7 separate regions of the Homo sapiens genome follow, and regions 1, 2, 3, 5, 6 and 7 are each linked to region 4. The links are contacts of gene promoters, found by promoter capture Hi-C in blood cells and fetal thymus (Javierre and others, 2016). All regions are on one chromosome and are shown on one strand. Each heading gives the region's core, a stretch centred on a gene start or on the middle of the fragment in contact. The rest is flanking DNA. Distances are from core to core; before and after follow the strand shown. Region 1 overlaps FBXL5 (F-box and leucine rich repeat protein 5). Region 2 has its middle 30 kb from the start of CD38. Region 3 has its middle 8.1 kb from the start of BST1. Region 4 holds the start of RAB28 (RAB28, member RAS oncogene family). Region 5 overlaps CC2D2A (coiled-coil and C2 domain containing 2A). Region 6 has its middle 27 kb from the start of HS3ST1. Region 7 has its middle 7.5 kb from the start of FAM200B.

What was found. Contacts are between HindIII fragments. The CHiCAGO score rates a contact against its expected background, and 5 or more counts as called.
Region 1: a fragment that was not itself captured here is called in contact with the fragment with the promoter of RAB28 in region 4 in 9 of 17 cell types (naive CD8 T cells, naive CD4 T cells, total CD4 T cells and 6 more); the score reaches 18.2 in naive CD8 T cells.
Region 2: a fragment that was not itself captured here is called in contact with the fragment with the promoter of RAB28 in region 4 in 5 of 17 cell types (naive CD8 T cells, activated CD4 T cells, non-activated CD4 T cells and 2 more); the score reaches 10.4 in naive CD8 T cells.
Region 3: a fragment that was not itself captured here is called in contact with the fragment with the promoter of RAB28 in region 4 in 5 of 17 cell types (total CD8 T cells, non-activated CD4 T cells, naive CD4 T cells and 2 more); the score reaches 9.4 in total CD8 T cells.
Region 5: a contact is called between a fragment that was not itself captured here and the fragment with the promoter of RAB28 in region 4, in 1 of 17 cell types (naive CD4 T cells). The highest score is 6.7, in naive CD4 T cells.
Region 6: a fragment that was not itself captured here is called in contact with the fragment with the promoter of RAB28 in region 4 in 1 of 17 cell types (total CD4 T cells); the score reaches 8.9 in total CD4 T cells.
Region 7: a contact is called between a fragment that was not itself captured here and the fragment with the promoter of RAB28 in region 4, in 8 of 17 cell types (non-activated CD4 T cells, total CD4 T cells, naive B cells and 5 more). The highest score is 14.4, in non-activated CD4 T cells.

The regions. Positions count from the first base shown.
Region 1 is chr4:15,646,109-15,648,858 of GRCh38, forward strand. All of the region lies in intron 1 of FBXL5 (F-box and leucine rich repeat protein 5), which reads right to left. It also overlaps a transcript of FAM200B not described here. Among named protein-coding and RNA genes, the nearest start is that of FBXL5, 7.9 kb to the right of the region's middle. RefSeq lists silencers at 1,056-1,281, 2,550-2,649. The HindIII fragment of the contact is 8,302 bases long and covers 1-2,750 here.
Region 2 is chr4:15,746,682-15,749,381 of GRCh38, forward strand. It overlaps a transcript of BST1 not described here. Among named protein-coding and RNA genes, the nearest start is that of CD38, 30 kb to the right of the region's middle. The HindIII fragment of the contact is 683 bases long and covers 930-1,612 here.
Region 3 is chr4:15,693,507-15,696,336 of GRCh38, forward strand. No RefSeq gene overlaps it. Among named protein-coding and RNA genes, the nearest start is that of BST1, 8.1 kb to the right of the region's middle. RefSeq lists an enhancer at 1,629-2,225. The HindIII fragment of the contact is 872 bases long and covers 1,053-1,924 here.
Region 4 is chr4:13,482,994-13,485,693 of GRCh38, forward strand. RAB28 (RAB28, member RAS oncogene family) reads right to left here and starts at 1,347. Exons shown (of 7, transcript NM_001017979.3): 1 at 1,083-1,347. The coding sequence starts at 1,157. LOC105374495 (a long non-coding RNA gene) reads left to right here and starts at 1,456. Exons shown (of 3, transcript XR_925413.1): 1 at 1,456-1,961. RefSeq lists silencers at 879-1,498, 1,492-1,786, 1,749-1,808 and enhancers at 1,232-1,526, 1,322-2,229, 1,489-1,608. The HindIII fragment of the contact is 2,971 bases long and covers 582-2,700 here.
Region 5 is chr4:15,545,045-15,547,765 of GRCh38, forward strand. All of the region lies in intron 17 of CC2D2A (coiled-coil and C2 domain containing 2A), which reads left to right. Among named protein-coding and RNA genes, the nearest start is that of CC2D2A, 77 kb to the left of the region's middle. The HindIII fragment of the contact is 154 bases long and covers 1,235-1,388 here.
Region 6 is chr4:11,454,276-11,457,159 of GRCh38, forward strand. No RefSeq gene overlaps it. Among named protein-coding and RNA genes, the nearest start is that of HS3ST1, 27 kb to the left of the region's middle. The HindIII fragment of the contact is 2,037 bases long and covers 270-2,306 here.
Region 7 is chr4:15,672,977-15,675,676 of GRCh38, forward strand. It overlaps a transcript of FBXL5 not described here and a transcript of FAM200B not described here. Among named protein-coding and RNA genes, the nearest start is that of FAM200B, 7.5 kb to the right of the region's middle. The HindIII fragment of the contact is 8,677 bases long and covers 1-2,700 here.

The DNA.
Region 1 (2,750 bases), core at 151-2,650, 2.2 Mb after region 4:
GTGGTCTGTAGCAATTATTTACCTCAGCAGTTGTAGCACAAAAGTAGTCATAGACAACATGTAAATGAATGACTGTAGCTGTATTTCCATAAAACTTTATAAACACTGAAATTCAAATTTCATATAATTTTTCACATGTCACAAAATACTATTCTTCTTTTGATTTTTTCCAACTATTTAAAAATGTAAAAGTGATGCTTGGCTCTTAAGCCACACAAAAAACACAGGCAGGACATACTTGGTTAAATACATATTATAGATTTTTTTTTAAATCATAAGAAATGCCCCACAAGATTACAATAAAATCTATTGGTGGCTAATCTCTGCAAACACTATCATGTATCATTTTTTGGAAAAAAAAAAAAAGGCAAACTTAAAAATAGCCTTAGTAGAAGCAGGGTACAAAATCAAAAGAAACCATTAATGCTAAATATTTTTTATTATTATTATTATTATACTTTAAGTTTTAGGTACATGTGCACAACGTGCAGGTTTGTTACATATGTATACATGTGCCATGTTGGTGTGCTGCACCCATTAACCCGTCATCTAACATTAGGTATATCTCCCAATGCTATCCCTCCCCCTCCCCCCACCCCACAACAGGCCCCGGTGTGTGATGTTCCCCTTCCCACGTCCATGTTGTTCTCATTGTTCAATTCCCACTATGAGTGAGAACATGCGGTGTTTGGTTTTTTTGTCCTTGCGACAGTTTGCTGAGAATGATGGTTTCCAGCTTCTAGATATTATTTTTTTAATGGCAAAAAGTAAACACAGTCAGCCTCCGTGGGGATGCAGAAACCACAGATTCAACCAACTGTGGATTGAAAAAGGCTGGGCATGGTGGCTCACACCTGTAATCCCAGCACTTTGAGAGGCTGAGGTGAGTGGATTACCTGAGGTCAGGAGTTCGAGACCAGCCTGACCAACATGGTGAAACCCCATCTCTACTAAAAACACAAAAATTAGCAGGGAGTGGTGGTGTGCACCTGTAGTCCCAGCTACTCGGGAGGCTGAGACAGGAGAATCACTTGAACCCAGGAGGCAGAGGTTGCAGTGAGCCGAGATCATGCCACTGCACTCCAGCCTGGGCAACAAAGCAAGACTCCATCTCAAAAAAAAAAAAAAAAAAAAAGAAAGAAAATGTTGAAAAAAATAAAAATAAACAACAACAACAAAAAACAATATAACAACTACATACATAGCATTTTCACTGTATTATGTATTATAAGTAATCTAAAGATGATTTAAAGTGTATGGGAAGATATGTGTAAGTTACATGCAAATACTATGCTATTTTATCTGAGGGACTTGAGCATCTATGGAGTTTGGTATTCATGGGTGTCCTGAAAACAATCTCCCACAAAATAGGAGGATACCAAGGGAAGACTGTAATGCCCTAACATGAGTTAAGAAAAATAATATATTAAAAGACATACAGGGAATTTTGCATATATTCTCATTAGACTATTAGAAATTCTTTTAGATCTAATAACACATTAAGGTAAAGATTAGTTTCATGCCACAAACTGACAGTCAAATTAACTATAGTAACTATATAAAGAGACTCTAAATTACAGGTAGAATCTATATCCAGCTAACCTAGCACAGTAGTTAAAAGCACTGACTCTAGGGCAAGATTGCCTAGGTGTAAATCCATTCTACCAGCAAGTCATTACATTTCTTTGTACCTCAGTTTCTTCATCTGTAAAACAGGGCTAATAATATTAACTACTTCACAGAGTTCTTGTGAGAATTTTTTTGAGACAGGGTCTTGCTCTGACACCCAGGCTGCAGTGCAGTGGCATGATCATAGCTCACTGCAACCTCAAACTCCTGGGCTCAAGTGATCCTCCTGCTGGCCTCAGCCTTCCGAATAGCTGGAACTACAGGTGTGGTGTGCACCACACCCAGTTACTTTTTTATTTTTTAGAGACGGGGTCTCACTATGTTGGCCAAGCTGGTCTTAAAGTCCTGGCTTCAAGCGATCCTCCTGACTCAGCATCCTGAGTTGCTGAGATTATAGGCACAAGCCACTGCACCTGGCTACCTGTGATAATTTAATAAGTTAATATAAAGAACACAGAATATAAGCCCTACCTAGGCATCTGTAAGGCTTATTTAGTAGGCTTTTCTGTTATTAATTCTGTATTCAGACCAAAATAAAATATCATTAGAAAGGAATTGGTACAGCCATTATGGAAAACAGTATGGAAATTCCTCAAAAAATTAAAAATGTAATTTTCATAAGTTCCAGCAATCCCATTCCTGAGTATATGTTCAAAGTAAATAAAATTAGGATCTCTAAGAGATATCTGCACTCCCATGTTCAATGCAGCATTATTCATAATAGCCAAGATATGGAGCCAACCTGAGTGCTTGTCCACAAATGAGTAAAGAAAATGTGATATATACAATAAAATATTATTCAGTCATAAAAAAGGAAATCCTGTCATTTGCAACAACATAGATGAACCTGGAAGACAGCTAAGTGAAATAAGCCAGAGACAGAGAGATAAATAATGTATGATCTCACTATATATGGAATCTAAAGTAGAACTCACAGAAGCAGAGAATATGAAAGGTGGTTGTTGGGGCAGGGGATGGAGAAAATGGGGAGATGCTGAAAAAAGAACACTAACTTTCAGTTCTAAGATGAGTACGTTCTGGGGATATAAGGTACAGTATGGTGACTATAGCTAATAATACTGTATTATGTACTTGAAATTTGCTGAGAGTACATCCTCTGT
Region 2 (2,700 bases), core at 21-2,520, 2.3 Mb after region 4:
TCAAACCATAGGAACCTAGGATGTGGTATTGCTCTGGAATGGTGGTCACCTTCAGGGGTGTTTACTTCATCTTTCCTACTATAAAGGCTCTTACTCCACAGGTCAAAAAACAAATGTGAGAGGGGGCTAGGGACATGATCACAGCATGGGTGCTGATAAACTTAGTTCTGGAGTCCATTTGTCATCTAGCCTCAGTAAGTCCTTATTTAACTGAGGGGGCCCATGATTGTGTTTTGGGTCTTGTAGCAGTGACAGCTCAGACTCTGTGATCAAGCCATCAGAAGATCTGAGTATTCCATTCCTCCAAATGCACAGGAACTCCAACAAATGGGTATGGGTCCCTTTGGGGAAGGGTTGGGAGAATCACTATGTTATATGCTTGCTGTGGCTTACAGGACTTCCTCTCCCTTAAGTGATTAAATCTGGGCCTGAGGTTCCAGACACCAGTCTGGGAACTGGGTATCAGACTGTGATCGTCCATTGTGGTAGCTGACATCATCAACATTTGGCTCTCTTGCTCCTGATCACTTTTGATTGTAAAGGTCAAGCAATATCCTTATCAACTGCACATCTAAGAGCTCTTAGGAACCATGGGATATATTAACCACAGTCTCAGATTCGTGCCTGTCAGGCCCCTGTTTGCCATGCTGCCTTTATGCCATTATAGTAGTCATGGCTGCCTTGCTGCCACCAAGCCTCCACTATTCTGGAATCCTATTTTGCTTCTTGGTACTAGGAATCCCAGTCCCATAATGATATCACTACCATCAATCCTGGCCTTCAGAATATAAACCACTTCGGAGTTTTTCCGTGAAGCCAGTACCCCCATCACCATCACATTCTTTACTGTTTTAATGAAGACTGTCTTCTTGGACTCTCTTGGAAACATTGTCAGCGAGCTGTGTTATTCTATGTCATTCTTTGGAGTAAGCTTATCTCCCTGAGCCAAAGCACAGTAGTAAATAAATCTTATCTAGTTTTTAAAAACATTTATTTATTTATTTATTAGAGACAAGTTCCTACCTTCTCCCAGGCTGGAGCACAGTGGTCCCATCATGGCTCACTGCAGCCTCAAATTCTTAGGCTCATGTGATCTTCCTTCCTCAGTCTCCTGAGTAGCTAGGACTACAGGCACAAGTCACCATGCCCAGCTAATATTTTAAATTCTTATTTTTTGTAGAGATGTGGTCTTGCTATGTTGCCAAGGCTGGTCTCGAATTCCTGGCCTCAAGCAATCCTTCTTCCTTGGCCTCCTAAAGTGTTGGGATTACAGGCATGAGCCACTGTGTCCAGCCAACCTTATCTCATTTATTTCAGGCCTTCTTTTCTCCAGATTTCAATGAGCCATTCCTACAGTTGTATTAGGACCAGCTCTAAGTGCCTTGCCAGGTCATTAAACTTTGACTCATGAGAGAGTACCCTTTTATCAACTCATTCTTTCTTATCCAGCCTTGTATATTACGTACCACCATTATCAGTCCAACACCATTCTCATGCGTGCTTTCCCAATTCCTGACATATATTTAGGCAGATCCTACAATTCTTTTGGTTAACAATCCCTTTTCTCCAAAATAAGGGACAGTATTTCCCAGGAGCATGGTGCCGATACTGAAGCTTAGTTATTTGTCTAGAAGCAGTGAAGGGAGACAGGTTCTGAAGAGGCAAGCACCCTCTTGCAATGCAAGGCTGTGCACAGTTTCCAGGCAAAGGGAGCTGCTATCCTTCAGTAAGAGGGGGAGAAAGCGACTCCTGCCAACTCTCTGGGGGGTCATGGGAATCTAGGGGTTCAAGGTGTGCCATTTCATAGGCAAAGATGTCCCCATCCCATCTCAGGGTCTTACTCTCTCCCCACAAAGGCCTTGACTTTAATGAAGGATATCTGCCAGGGCTGGGAATAGAGACCAAAGTTTCTTGATTATTCTGCTGTGATCATAATGAACATGCTGTGCTTGTAGGATTTTCGCACAGTCTGCCCTCTGGCTGCAGGGGGTGAGGGGCTCCTTCAATGTTGAGGGCCATTGAGGTCTTCTGACTTCACACTACACCCGAGTTGATAGTTGGTAGTTGATCTGATCCTGTTGTTTTCTTCCCTTAGCACATGATGGTAGTGGAAAGCAACAGCTAATTCCACATTCCTTATGATTACCATTTTATGACATCTCTCAGTTGCTATAATAGCGTGTAAGTCAGTGCATCTCTTTCTCTTTCTTCCATCATAGCTCACTTCATGCAAGAGTCGCAGTAATTGAAATGCCACAGCACACCAGAGGAAGGGAGGATGAGACGAGGGAGGGAAGCAGCCCATAAAGGACACATTACCAAGCAAGTTGTCACTGAGGGCAACTGGAGCTTAATCCTGCGGGGACCTTTGGCTGACAGTGTAGCAAATTTCTCAGAGTTAATTAATCAAAGACATGGGGAAGCTGAGGTGTCTATCCTTCATTCCTGCCAGTCATTGGTTGAGGGCACTCCCAGGAAGGATATTAATTCCTGACACTTCCAGGCTGCCCCGTGTGGGGGCAGAACAGGTATTGGAAGTCAGAGAAGGCTCTCAGGCAGTCACAGGTGCTTCCCATTGGAAGTTGAGAGGATGGGTCCAGAAACGGTCATTGCCAAGATGAATAAGCACGAGACACCAGCACTTTCTGCTACGAGCGGGTTTTCTGTCACTTGATCCAAATGCTTCACAGTTGAGAGTCT
Region 3 (2,830 bases), core at 239-2,738, 2.2 Mb after region 4:
GTTTTTCCTTTTCTGCCTTTGCTCAGGCAATTCGTTCCATCTGAAATCTCTTTTCCGCCAACTGTGTATATCAGCATACTACTATTTCTTCTAGAAATTTATGTAAGTGGAGTAATAAAGTTTGTGTTCTTTTACATCTAGCTTCTTTCATTCAGCATATTTTTAAAAGATTTGTCATTTTTTTGTATTGCTAAATAATACTCTATTATATGATGATGTTACAAGTTATTAATATATTGTTGTTGGACATTTGCATTGTTTACTGTTTTGAGTTACGAATTAAGCTTCTACAAACATGGGCACAAATCTTTGCATAGATGTATTTTCATTTTTCCTTTGGTAAATACCTAGGAATGGAATATCTTCTTTGGTGAGGCATTTGTTTAACTATTTTGCCAATTTTAAGATGTGGTTGTTTTTCTTATTTTTGAGTTTGTTGGATATAAAAAGCTCGAGGAATAAATGCTCGGTGCCGTGAAGTAAAACCAGCAGTCAGGCAAAAGTTTAATCCTGTCAGCAAGGCAATTGACTTCTGCAGAAGGGTGCCACTTGCATCAACTAAGATCGCAAGAGCACAGAGAACAAAGGAGACTGGGGGGTTTTTATATCCTTAACGCAATTCCTACTTCTGTGTCCCTCCCCCATGGGTAGGGTCAGACTGCACAATCTGAGCTGACCCTATTGGCTACTTGTACATATTTTTCTAAATATAAAAGGGGAGGGGGACGTGAGCTACAGAGGTGGAGCATGTGAGACGTGCAGTTTCAGGGACACAATGGGTGCAGGTAACCAAGGGAATAGATGTGAGTTATTGATTAGGGATGACAGAAAAGGGGTAGGCTGTTTTACAGTAACTAGGGACAAGGAGGAACAGGAAAGTTGAGTTTGAGAACAAAAGACAAGGAAGTTAGCAGGCTACATTTTTGAAGAGAAACTCAGAGAAATTCATTGTATCTTACAACTCCTCCCTTTTAAATTTTCTTATGATTTTTCTCTTCAAACTCTTTAACATGTCTTGGCTTTGCCGTTTGTTTTGATCTTCTAAAAGGAAAAGCTTACTTGAATAAGGTGGAGGAGAACTAAGGGAGGCTTTAGTAAGTGCTGTTTGTACAATCTTTTGTATTTGCCTATGGATGCATGGTATGACACATCACCTAACGAGTTCGTCTAGTACGATTGCAAGAGAAATAAGAATTGAGGCTATGTTTCCTTTATATTTACCAAACCACTTTCCTAGCCATTCTGAAATAGGGTCATTGACTTCAGAATTTTTAGTTAATGCATTGGATAAAGCAGTAAATCCCTGCAAGGCCTTTGTTATGCTTCCATTGGGAGCAGTGTTGTTTGGGATGAAGGTGCAATATTGGGTTTTAATTATAACACAAACCCTACCTTTTTTGGCTAATAACATGTCTAGAGCTATTCTGTTTTCCCAAGTCATTTGGCTAGTAGGCCTTAATTGGTCAGCTATTCCTTTGATAGCATCCTTGGTGTAATTAATAAACTGTTGCTGATTATAATAGATGTAATTTATCCAAGCCACATTTTTATTAATAGTTACCTGTGGAAATATGGATTTAAATTCTGCAGCTATTTGGTCATGGACTTTGAATCTGTTAGGCACTTCTTGTGGGACTCCAATGACGTCTATGTTAACTTGAGAGTCAAAAGATCCATAAGAGGCTTTTCTTCTTCTTTTTTTTTTTTTGGCGGGGGAGGTGTTGTGGTTTTTCTTTTTCTGGTTGATGAAATGTCAGGGTGAAAGGGATAGCCAATTAGACAAGAGTGTAAGTACCACTCCAGTTACCTGGCAGAGTGTCCAGTAAGTGTTCACCACAATACCACCATACATCTGTTTGAGGATGACTAAGGGCAGACTGATGAGTAAGCTCCTGGAAAGGCTTAAGCTCACGGCATCCCATTAAGCTTCCAAGGAATGCCAAATTCTCCCCCTGTGGTGACAGACACAAGGTGAAATTGACGGGAAAAGGAAGCTGAGTGGTCCTCGGGGGCTGACTCGCAGGGTGTTGGACTTCGGGATATAGCAGAGAGAGAGCCTGGCATGATTTGTTGCCCCAAGCCGTAGAATCCTGGAAGAGAGCTACCATGCAGCCCATGCCCGGTCGACTGGGAGACCATCCGAGTGGAAAGGGGACTCTCTGGGCCTCCAGCCGGCCATGCACACAAGCATAACAACTGCTTTTATTTAATGTACTTGGGAGGTGAGCATGCACAATGTGTTTAGGAAGCTGTATGCATGCCATCTGAGGCTTTCTTCCATTTTCCAGGGGAGTGCCCCTGGAAGGTCATACTCCACCATTTTGTCTCTTAATGTACATGCCCTGGAAGTTGCTTTTCCCTGGTCTCTGCATTCAATTAACCGTTTAGTGCCGCAGGTGTGGACCATAAGGAAATGGCCTCTCCCTGGTGTCAGCTGCCAATTTATCACTTTTAAAGAGGCAATGTAATAAGTGCCAAACCAACACCCGACATTCCTAGTGGGTGGGGGAAGAGCCCTCTCCTGCTGCACTCATGCCTGTCTAACTACATGTAACACACAGAACTTTTTCTTTTTTTTTTTTAAGCTCATCAGCTAATGCTAGTGCTTTTTATGTGTGGCTGAAGTTAGTGTTAGTCTTATGTTAGTGTTAGTGTTTTTTATGTGTGGGTTATTCCAATGTGGCCCAGGGAAGCCACAAGATTGGACAACCCTGTTTTTTACATACATGCCTTTGTCAGATACATGTATTGCAAGTACATCCCAATTTGTGGATTGCTCATTTTCTTAGTGGTGTTTTTTGAAGAGCAGAATTTCTTAGCTTTGATGAAT
Region 4 (2,700 bases), core at 97-2,596:
TGGGTTTCTTTAGACTATGGTTGGGATAAGGAAGGGGAGTACAGGGGTGATAAACTTTAGCAATATTCCCAGAAAGTGTTGGCGCCTTTGACAGAAGCATGGGAAAGAAGGCATCCGGGTAGAGGCTCTTCACTATTTGCTGGTGGAGGGATCATAGACCCCTCTGAGATCTTATGGACCCTCTCCCCAGAGCACGTACCGGGCAGTATTTACTCCATTTCAGGAGTTCCACAGCCTTGGGGTAGGAGCCCCTGCCTAGGAGATAATAAGACTGACGCTGCCTGATATTCTCACGCCCGCATTCATTCATTCGAACAGGGGATCCCTTTTGTCACGCAAGCAGCTCTACCCTCAGCATCCTACCCGTAACAGGAGCTCCATAAACACTTGTTGACTGACTGCTTGTATCGAGTGCTGAGCTGGAAACAGAGGTGATGAACAGGTATGATATTAAAATAGCAACTAGAGTGTACTGAGTGGACACTGTGCTCTAAAGGTTTTATGTGTATTTTCACATTTAATATGTATTTTCACATTTCTCCCTTTGCGGCGGCCCTTTTCAATACCCATCTTACAGATGAAGCTTAAACTGATTAGCAATTTGCCCTCCAATGACCCGACGACTAAGTGGCAGAGCCCCAATTCTCACCCGGGGAATACTGATTCCAGAGCTACGCTCCTGGGAGCTCACGATGCAGTAGAAGCATCAGAAACGGTAAAGGGGGTGGGAGGGGAGGAGTAAGTGTGACCCAGACTACAAGTAAGAGGAGCTAAGATGCCTTGGCAAATCCCTGCCAGTCCTGAGAGGCGGGAAGCTGAAAGGCTGGCCCGAGTCTTGCAGGAGTTCGCAATCCAGGCGGGGAGTTAGGAAGTGACTCTTTTTTAAGGGGGAGCTGGACAGCTCTCGTCGGCCTTCACCAAGCGCCCACTTCGTGTCCGGCCTCAGGCCACACAACCAGAAGGGCCCGGGCCTAGAAGCCCGAGGGCTCGGGGTAACGAGGCGACGCCGGGCGGCGGGGAGGAGGCCGGGGACCGCCGGGGTTCCTGCAGGCCTGGGACGGCGGGCCTGCTCGAGGACTGACCTTCCCGGAGGCGCCGTCCCCCAGCACGACGATTTTCAGTTGCCGGTCCTGGCTCTCCTCCTCAGAGTCCGACATGGTGTCCCGGGAACCAGGCCCGCCCCTCGAGGTGGGGGGGGAAGGGAAGGATGAAGGCTCCGGGGGCGGGGGAGAGGAGGAAGGGAGGTAGTTGCGGCAGGACCCCCGCCCCGGTGTCTCCGCGCCGGCAGGAGGTATTCGAGGAGAATCACTCGGCAAGCGCCATCTTGCCCACCTCCCCGCCCTCTGCGCGCGGCCCCGCCCCCTACGCGCACGTCGGGCGCGCGCCCCCGCCTCAGAGCCAACCCGCGCCGACCGGCGGCCCCGCCTGACGAGCCGAACCACTCGCGGCCCTGGACTGGTGTGGGGGACATTCCGGCGGGAGAGGCGAGGCGCTGCGTTTCCCTTCAGGAGACAGTTGGCTAGAAGAAGAAAAGAAGTGTTCGTTCAAATTAAGGAGAGAAAACGGGAGCAGAGCAGCTTTCAGGCGTTCCATCAAATTCCCTTTTCTCCTTCCCTCTTGAGAAAGTCTCTGAAGGGAATGGTTCAGCCTGACGGGGTGGAGCAGTGACGCCCGGGCTACGCGCCAGGGTTGCCTGGCAGCCAGGAGTTCGAGGACCGGCGGCGGGGCGGGGCCTGTCTCCGGGCACCCGGGACGCCCGTAGCCTGGCGGAGAGCGCCAGAGAGGGCCCCTGAAAAACCGGACCAGGGAAGAGGGTACCTCGGGGCGGATGAGGGGACAGCTGCTAAGGGCCGAGGCTGCTGGGAAGCCTCAGTAGCGGCCGTGAATACAGTGGAGCTCCGGCGCTGCTTATTTCGGCCTAACTCTTGGTTTCCTCATCTGAACAACCCCAGGCTCCCATGGTTCGTTCATCAGACGCTACTGATCGCCAACCTCCTGGCACCCCATCTTTACCCTAAGGCAGCAGTTCTCATAAAGTGTGGTCTAGGGACCTCTGGAAATCCCGATGACCTCAGAACAATTTTCATAATAATACGGACACCTTGTCTGTCTTTCTCACGTTCCTTCTCTCACTAGTATACCGTTTCCTGGAGGATACGCTTTGTGTACGACGTCATCACTGGCAGCTAAGGGAGCTTGCGTTTGTTGTTTTTAAACATTTCTCAGTTTTCATTTCAATGCAGTAGTGATAGGTGTAACCCACATAAACATAAGCTCTTTGGAGGTCACAGTAATTCTTTAACATTATAGAGAGGCCCTGAGTCCAAAAAATTTAAGAACTGCTGCCCTGGATAATCTCAGTCCAGGAGCGTTAGGTAAACGGCATAAATGAAATTTACAATTTAGTGAGGTAAATTCAAAAATAATAATGCTGTCCTGCTATGGTTGTTTCATTGTTAATCACTTAAAATTTATTGTTACCTTTACTACTATTAGGAATTATGAAGTATAATTATCCCCATTTTGCAGATGAAGTATCTTAAGTTAACAAAATGCTTAGCCCAGAGGCAGTAGTCTTGGAGACCATATGGGCATTAGAACAGGAAAGCAGAACAGTGTAAAGAAATGCCCAGACCTAGAGGCATCACTGGAGTTTAATCTCATGTTTACTAGATATGTGTCCTCGAGCCTCAGTTAGTT
Region 5 (2,721 bases), core at 62-2,561, 2.1 Mb after region 4:
ATAATGGCATAGTTTTTTAAGACTGAGTAGTGACTACAGATTAAATTAATCTAGGAGATACTGTATTTCAAGTCTCTAGTCATAGTAAGTACTCTGCTATTTGGAAATTTTCCACATGATTGCTAGATTTAAACTAGGGAAGAATTACTGGCAACTTTAGGAGGGTAGAAAAACTCACCTAAAATACATCTGTTAATGCCAATGCTATCAAATTCTTAACTTTAAAGCATAGTATATTTCAGAAAAAGTTCTAAGATTCTCAAAACTATAATGCATCAATTGATAACTCAGCAACCAAGTGGTCAATGTTTTCTGCTTGATTGTGAAAAGCCAACTGCGTATCTAAGCCAGGGTGTTGTGGAGAATTGGAAGCCATGTATACAGAGGGGCACATAGGACCCTGCCTCAGGAGTTTCAGTCCAGCTAGGATATAAGGGAGAGCTACAAAGAATCAATACTCACTGGTGCATAGATGTTAACGACCTTTGAAAGGAGCAGTGTAGACTGTGATGTTTGATTTCTTGCATGTTTGTAACCATAAGGCTCAGAGCTTCTAGCCAGGCTTGAGATAAGAATGCCAAGGCAGTTCTACAAGCAGAAGGTAAGTCCAAAGGCTGGCACAGAAAGCCAGGAGTGAGGGGATGGGCTCAGGGCCTGGCAGTAGAAATGGGAAGATGGGAAGAAGGAATTAATTAAAGTAAGATTGGAGCCAGAATTGGTGGAATCCACAGAGCTTGATGACAGTTTAACTTGAGGAAGTAAAAAGGGGAGAATCAGAGTTGGGCCAGGCACAGTGGCTCACACCTATCATCCCAGCACTTTGGGAGGCTGAGACGGAAGGATAGCTTGGGCCCAGAAGTTTGAGACCACCCTGTGCAACCTAGCGAGACCCCATCTCCACAAAAATTTTAAAAAATTAGCTGGGCATGGTGGTACATACCTCTAGTCCCAGCTACTTGGGAGGCTGAGGCAAGAGGATTGCTTAAGCCTGGGAGTTTGAGGCTGCAATGAGCCATGATCACGCCACTGCACTCCAGCCTGGGAGACAGGGTGAGACCCTGTCTCAAAAAAAAAATTGGCCCCAAGAGAAGGATGAGATTGGACTTCATGGGACAGGGGAGTTGGAGCCAGGCCACAGTCCTTCCAGAAAGGTCTTGAAAATCTTGGCTTTGGAGGCCTTTCCAAAATAAATATGTAGGGTTTTAAAAATGAAATTTGGCTTAGAAATTTAAAAAGCTTTGCCTTCATTTTTGTGTCATTTGCATCTGTAACTTTATCCTACATTCATCTTCTCAACACCAAAACAACTAACAACAGTGGTATAATATTGCTGGGTGCCTTTTAAATTTTTTAACATTATCATTTTTCCTTATTAGTCAATCCTGTTAAGCTTTTGTATTCCTGGCATGTGGATTGAGATAGGGAAATTCTCCTTTTAACCTACTTGGTGATGGCCCAGCTTTCTCTTCTCAGGGCCTTTCCTAATTCTCTGGCTCATCTGAGGAATAACTCCTCTATCAGAGTGGGAATAACAGTCATGTTTGGAGAAGTGTCCTTGTTTACCCTCGCCTACCTCACTTTTGTGGTTGCTGTTGGTTCTTTATGGACCCAAGTCCAAAACAGATGTTTTCACATACATCTTACTTGCCATGCTTTAAACTGGATGACAGCAAGTCAGACTGCTGATCCCAGAAAGCCCTGCTGTGTGCAGTTGGAAAGGTCAGGTGGTTGAGGGCTGGTAGGAAGTCGGGTGGCGGCTGCAGGGAAGATGGGTTGCATGAGGCAAGAAGACAGGTGTGGTCATCTAAAGGTAAGACAATGAGGGTTTGAATGAGACAAGGCCTGTGAAACTGGGAAATCTCTAGGAAATGTTTACTAAGTGTCTACTGCAGGAACACAATATTTACATATGTTATCTCGTGTTATCCCGAAGAAAGCCATGGGTACTATAATGGGAGAATTCCCATTAAAAAAAAAATCTTCCTTGCTTTATTTCTCTGACAAAATGACAGGTATAGAAATGTCTGCAGGAAAAAAACATGCTGGTTACATGCTATCATTTTAGATGGGAAAAACAAAACTTGTGATTCTTTTCTTTTGTACCTTTACAATATTCTGTGATTTTTTAAACTTTTTTATTGATACATAATAATTGTATGTATTTATGGGGTACATGTGGTATTTTGATACATGAATAGAATGTATAATGATCAAATCAGGGTATTTAGAATATCTATTACCTCAAACATTTATCATTTGTGTTGCAGACATTTTAAATCTTCTCTTCTAGCTATTTTGAAATATACAGTAAGTTATTGTTAACTATAGTAACCCTACTGTGCTATCAAACACTAGAACATACTCCTTCTAACTATATTTCTATACCATTAACGAACCTCTCTTCATCCTCCTCCTCTACCTCCTCCCTTCTCAGCCTTTGATAACCATCATTCTACTCTTTTCTTACATAAGATCAGCTTTTTAGGCTCCCACATATGAGTGAGAGGCCAGGGGTGCTGCTAAGCATCCTACAACATACAACTCACCACAACAAAGAATTACTTGGCCTGAGAACCCTCAGCATCGTTGAGAGAAAACAAAAATGAAACTAAATTATACAGAGATCTACTTATAAATACCTACTTAAAGCCCAAAGTACCCATTTCCTAATTTTTAAAAATAGCATTTCTTCCTAGCATTTAAAAGAACTTCTGGGCCAGG
Region 6 (2,884 bases), core at 38-2,537, 2.0 Mb before region 4:
TAATCCCAGCACTTTGGGAGACTGACGTGGGAGGATCCCTTAAACCCAGTTGGAAATCATCTTATGCAACATAACAAGACCTCATAGCTACTAAAATACAAACAAACAAACAAACAAAAAATTAGCCAGGCATGGCTAATTATGATTGGCATATGCCTGTAGTCCAAGCTACATGAGAGGCTAAGTCAAGAGAATCACTTGAACCCAGGAGTGTGAGACTACATTGAGCCATGATTGTGCCACTGCACTCCAGCTTGAGCAACAGAGCAAGCTTCTATTTCAAACAAATGAACAAAAACTGTGTATCAGAAGAAGGAGGCTGGGCACGGTGGCTCACGCCTGTAATCCCAGCACTTAGAGAGGCTGAGGATGGAGGATTGCTAGAGCATAGGAGTTCAAGACCAGCCTGGGCAACATGGGGAAATGCTGTCTCTACAAAAAAATGCAAAATTAGCCAGGCATAAAGGCATGCACCTGTTAGTCCCAGCTACTGGGGTGGGAGAATTGGTTGAGCCCAGGAAGTGGAGGTTGCAGTGAGTTGAGAACACGCCATTGTATTCCAGCCCCAGTGACAAAGTAAGACCCTGCCTCAAGAAGAAGAAGGAAGAAGAAAGACAAAAAGAAAGAGAAGGAGGAGGAGGAGGAGAAGGAGAAAGAAGGAGAAGAAGGAGAAGGAGAAGAAGAAGAAGAAGAAGAAGAAGAAGAAGAAGAAGAAGAAGAAGAAGAAGAAGAAGAAGAAGGGAAGAAGAAGAAGAAGAAGGAGAAGAAGAGGAAGAAGAAGAAGAAGAGAAGAAGAAGAAAAGGAGGAGGACACTTTATTGCATGTAAATTAAAAGTAAATTTACAGGAATTATTTATTATTTGCAGTGCATGCTCTTTATTCTTGAGCCAAAGAGACATAGCTTAACTAAAGCTAACTATGATCAGTGATGTCACATAATGGCAATTGTGACAGTGAGTTTGTGGCCCTTTATCCCTTATCACCCTTCCAATCACATCGCTGTGATTGAGTGCAGACTGCTTCCTTTGTTTGTTTTCATGCTCCCCCTTTGATTACTCTCTCTTTTCTGAGCTGTATTCTCCTTCCCTGTAAGTAAAGTACGACCTGTAAAACACAAGAGGAAATGGGAGCATAAAAATTTGCATAATGTAATGAAACTGCTGTATCATGAGCTTTCTTTCTTTGGTTATGTTCGAATGAAAACAAAGGTATACCTCTGAATCGGAGTTTGGAGTGTTAGCCCTGGAAACTGGAATGAATAAAATAGGCCAGTAAGGCTTGCGTGCCTTACAACTTTAATGCAGCCATGTGCTGTACTGTTTATGGGTAAAGCACCTGGCATCACAGTCCTTCCTGGACTGGCCTTTATCTCAGGTAAGTGAGGCCTTTCCTGTTGAATCTCTTCCAGGCAGGTGTGCAGGGAAAGATGATAGCCTGGCCCATGGCTGAATGATTACTTCTCATCCATGGAATTCATTTTCATATCTGGAATGCTGCATAATCTGGTGAATAAAGCACTAAACTGGAAATCCAGGATATACAGTTTGTGAGGACTTGCTGACTGCACTTATGTGATCATCTTAACAGCTTAATGCTTGAATTAACTCAATCAGTATCATGGTTGGTAATTTGTAGTAAAAATTCTGACAACTTATACATGGTTTAAATTTATAAAGTGCTTTTATGCAGTTTAACTCTTTTAATCTTCAGGTTCAGATGGGAAAAAAAAATTGGGGCTGCGCGCTGTGGCTCATGCCTGTAATAACAGCACTTTGGGAGGCCGAGGCGGGCAGATCATGAGGTCAGGAGATCAAGACCATCCTGGCTAACACGGTGAAACCCCGTCTCTACTAAAAAATACATAAAAATTAGCCGGGCGTGGTGGCGGGCGCCTGTAATCCCAGCTACTGAGGAGGAGGCTGAGGCAGGAGAATGGAGTGAACCCAGGAGGCGGAGCTTGCAGTGAGCCGAGATCGCGCCACTGCACTCCAGCCTGGGCGACAGAGCAAGACTCCGTCTCAAGAAAAAGAAAAAAAAAAAAAAAAACAACAAAAAAAACCTGGCTGAATGAGGTTCGGTGTCATGTTTCTTATAGGATAGTTACGTCGTCTTTCCCTTCATATTCATCCTGTGAAGACACTTTAAGTAACACAGCAGATTTGATCTTGGACCTTTCATGACCCTGAATCATAACATTCAAGACCTGACTTTCTCTTTTTCTTACTTAGTATTTTTTTTTTAAGATTATAGATGAAGGTAAAGGTCACTCAGCCTGTTAATTGCATCTTTAGAAAATTGGGCCATAAGCTTGTGAAATATGACTCCATGGAATTGGAATGTGTTGATGCTCACGACATGTATATAAGGGGATGAATTGTTTCATAGATATAGTGACAGGTGAGGGAGAATAAATAGAGGCTGTTTATGAGGTGCTTTGAATTCTTTAGGGTCAATAAAGTGATTACAAAGTCACATTGGTCAATGAGACATAAAAAGAAAGTAAAAATAAAATGGGGCACAATTACAGTTTGGGTGATGGGTTAAAGTCTAAGTTAGGCATATTTTAGTGGAAAAAATTAAAATGCTTGATTAATCTTAAAGCTAAATTAGAAATGTAGTTGTGAACTTCATGACCTTGAATATAAGTCATTTTTTTTTCAGTTATTTCTGTCTTTCTGTCCCCCAGTACTTATGGACAGTGAGTGGCCACATCTTATGCCCTAATACGAATTAGTTCTTGAACTACAGAGAACAAAGGCTCCTTGGAGATCAATTGATTCCATGCCTTGGGTGCCTCGGGATGAAGCAAAATTTGGATAGATTATGAGCTGGAGTGGCTGCCAGAAAACAAGGAAATTGTAGCAATGTGTAGAGTTGTACCAA
Region 7 (2,700 bases), core at 170-2,669, 2.2 Mb after region 4:
TGTCTTCCACTTCCAGATTTTGTCACCCTGGAAGGTCTTCAAGGGCAATAACATGCACAAAGCTGTCATCTATGATAACAATGCCTTCGTCTGTAATACTTTGAAGGATCTGTCTGAAGTTGTTTTACGGTTAACTTTTGAAAATATACATAGGTAGAAAAAGTATACTCTAAAATAACAATAGGGCAGGTGCAATGGCTCACACCTGTAATAAGCACTTTGGGAGGCCGAGGTAGCTGGATCGCTTGAGCCCACAAGTTTGAAACCAGCCTGGACAACATGGCAAAATCCTGTCTCTACAAAAAATACAAAAAATTAGCCGGGTGTGTTGACCCGTGCCTGTAGTCCCAGCTACTTGGGAGGCTGAGGTGGGAGGATCACCAGAGCCCAGAAGGTCGAGGCTGCAGTGAGCCAAGATTGCACTACTCTACTCCACCCTGGGCAACAGAGTGAGACCTCATCTCAAAAAAAATAAAGATAAAATAAGGATAAATGTATCAGCAAGACAGTAGACCAGCATCACCACAGACACATAAGACATCATCATTGAGATCTATGACATCACTAGGTGGTAGGAATTTTCCAGCTCCATTATAATCTTATGAAGTCTATCATTGAACAAAATGTCTTTATGTGATCCAAGACTGTACTGTAATATTTTTGGATGATCCTTTCCTTGGCCTCAGGTCATTTCCTCACATGCATACAGTGATCAATACTTACCTGAAGAATCAGGAGAGATTCATTCCAGATCACTAGAATTCTCTCTCTATGCAGCTCTCTCCCTTCTAGCAAACTCTGGCTGCACTGGTTTCACCAGGCTCCAGGCTCTATCAACAGAGGGATTCCACTAGGCTGCATATGTTCCCCTCTCCCTGTACTATGGCTTAGAAATTCTCCCAAGGCAATAAACTGAGGCAATCATAGGACTCACTTTGTTTCCTATTGATCAAGGTTCACTGTCCTTCATTGCCTGATATCCAATATCTTGGAAAACATTGTTTTATATATTTTGTCCATTTTTTATTGTTTCTGGCCTGTATCAAACTTTTAACCATTACATGCCAGAACAAAAATTGATACATTCAAGGAAAAAACTGGATAGATTTGTTTTCCAACACTCTGAATCAAAAACTGAGTTATGCTTGGTGCCTGCAGAATAGGAAATATTGTAGCTTACTTCTCTGGAAATACTAAAGAATGATTATGAAATATCAAATGCATCGTGTTTTTTTTTTTTTTTTAATTCTCTAGCCCTATGTCATAATGATGTATCATTCTTTTGGAGGAAATAGGATTGTTCATTGCTAAGTGGCATGAATGTAGTACCGCTATTGGTACTTTTAATTCTTAACCCATAAAAACAAAGAAACAGAGTTAACACTGTACTGGGTATGTGAGAACTGCACTTGAGATCCCAAACTGAAATCAACTTATGAATACATAGCACACTCATCACTTTAAATAAAATGTCCCCCAATTTTTATTATATTGTATTTATTTGGGATTATTTCTCCATTTTACGTTTATATATTAGTGAAATTATATGTAATCATAACTTTTTTCCTTACAAAATTATTACTCATGAAACTTTCATTTTAATCATAAAACCTTCTTTTCTCCTTATCAACTCATTTCTATCATCTTAGAAGATTATCAACGTTATGGGATTTTTGGGTTTTTTTTTTTTTGAGACAGAGTCTCACTCTGTCGCCCAGGCTGGAGTGCAGTGACGCGATCTTGGCTCACTGCAAGCTCCGCCTCCCACGTTCACACTATTCTCCTGCCTCAGCCTCCCTAGTAGCTGGGACTACAGGCGCATGCCACCATGCCTGGCTAATTTTTTGTGTTTTTAGTAGAGACGGGGTTTCACCGTGTTAGCCAGGATGGTCTCGATCTCCTGACCTTGTGATCCGTCTGCCTCGGCCTCCCAAAGTGCTGGGATTACAGGCACGAGCCACCGCACCCAGTCGGTTATGGTTTTTAATGATAAATTAATTTGTCATATACCTACAATCATTGTTTGCACAAATTCCCATCAGTTCACTAGGAATCACGAAAAAAAAAGCAGTGGGCCTGCCACTACAAAACACTTTATGCATCAAAACAGATGAAGCAACTGTAAGGTATTTCTGTGATGTGTAACCAGGCTTGTAGAAGACTTTTCCACATCATTGATTTTTTATGTTAAGTCACATAATTTATAGAGGAAAGCTACCTCCCTCTAGTTTTCACTTCCTATATTTTGTTCCATAATTCATTTTCTTCAAATTAAGATTAATTTATACTTAACATTTATAAGACAAGTAGAAATTAATATGGGAAGCAAAATACTAGTATATAAAAATGAGGTGAATAAGTACCACAAATAAAAATTATTTAGGACTAAATGACCAACTACTACTATAGTATATAAAGATTTTCTTGCATTGTTCCTATCCTGGATTTACCAGCCTTCAGGCTTAGATCCTATCTAACCCCTCTAACTATTACTTTCAAATTCAAGTCTTAGCTACCACACAGGCAGTGCAAAAACAGAACCACTCAAGGAGTTGAACCTTCACTATGTCTTAACTTCTCGGTCACAAAACTCCTATTTTTTTTTTTTTTTTTTTTTTTTTTGAGGCAGAGTTTTGCTCTTGCTGCCCAAGTTGCAGTGCAATGGCGCCATCTCAGCTCACTGCAACCTCTGCCTCCCAG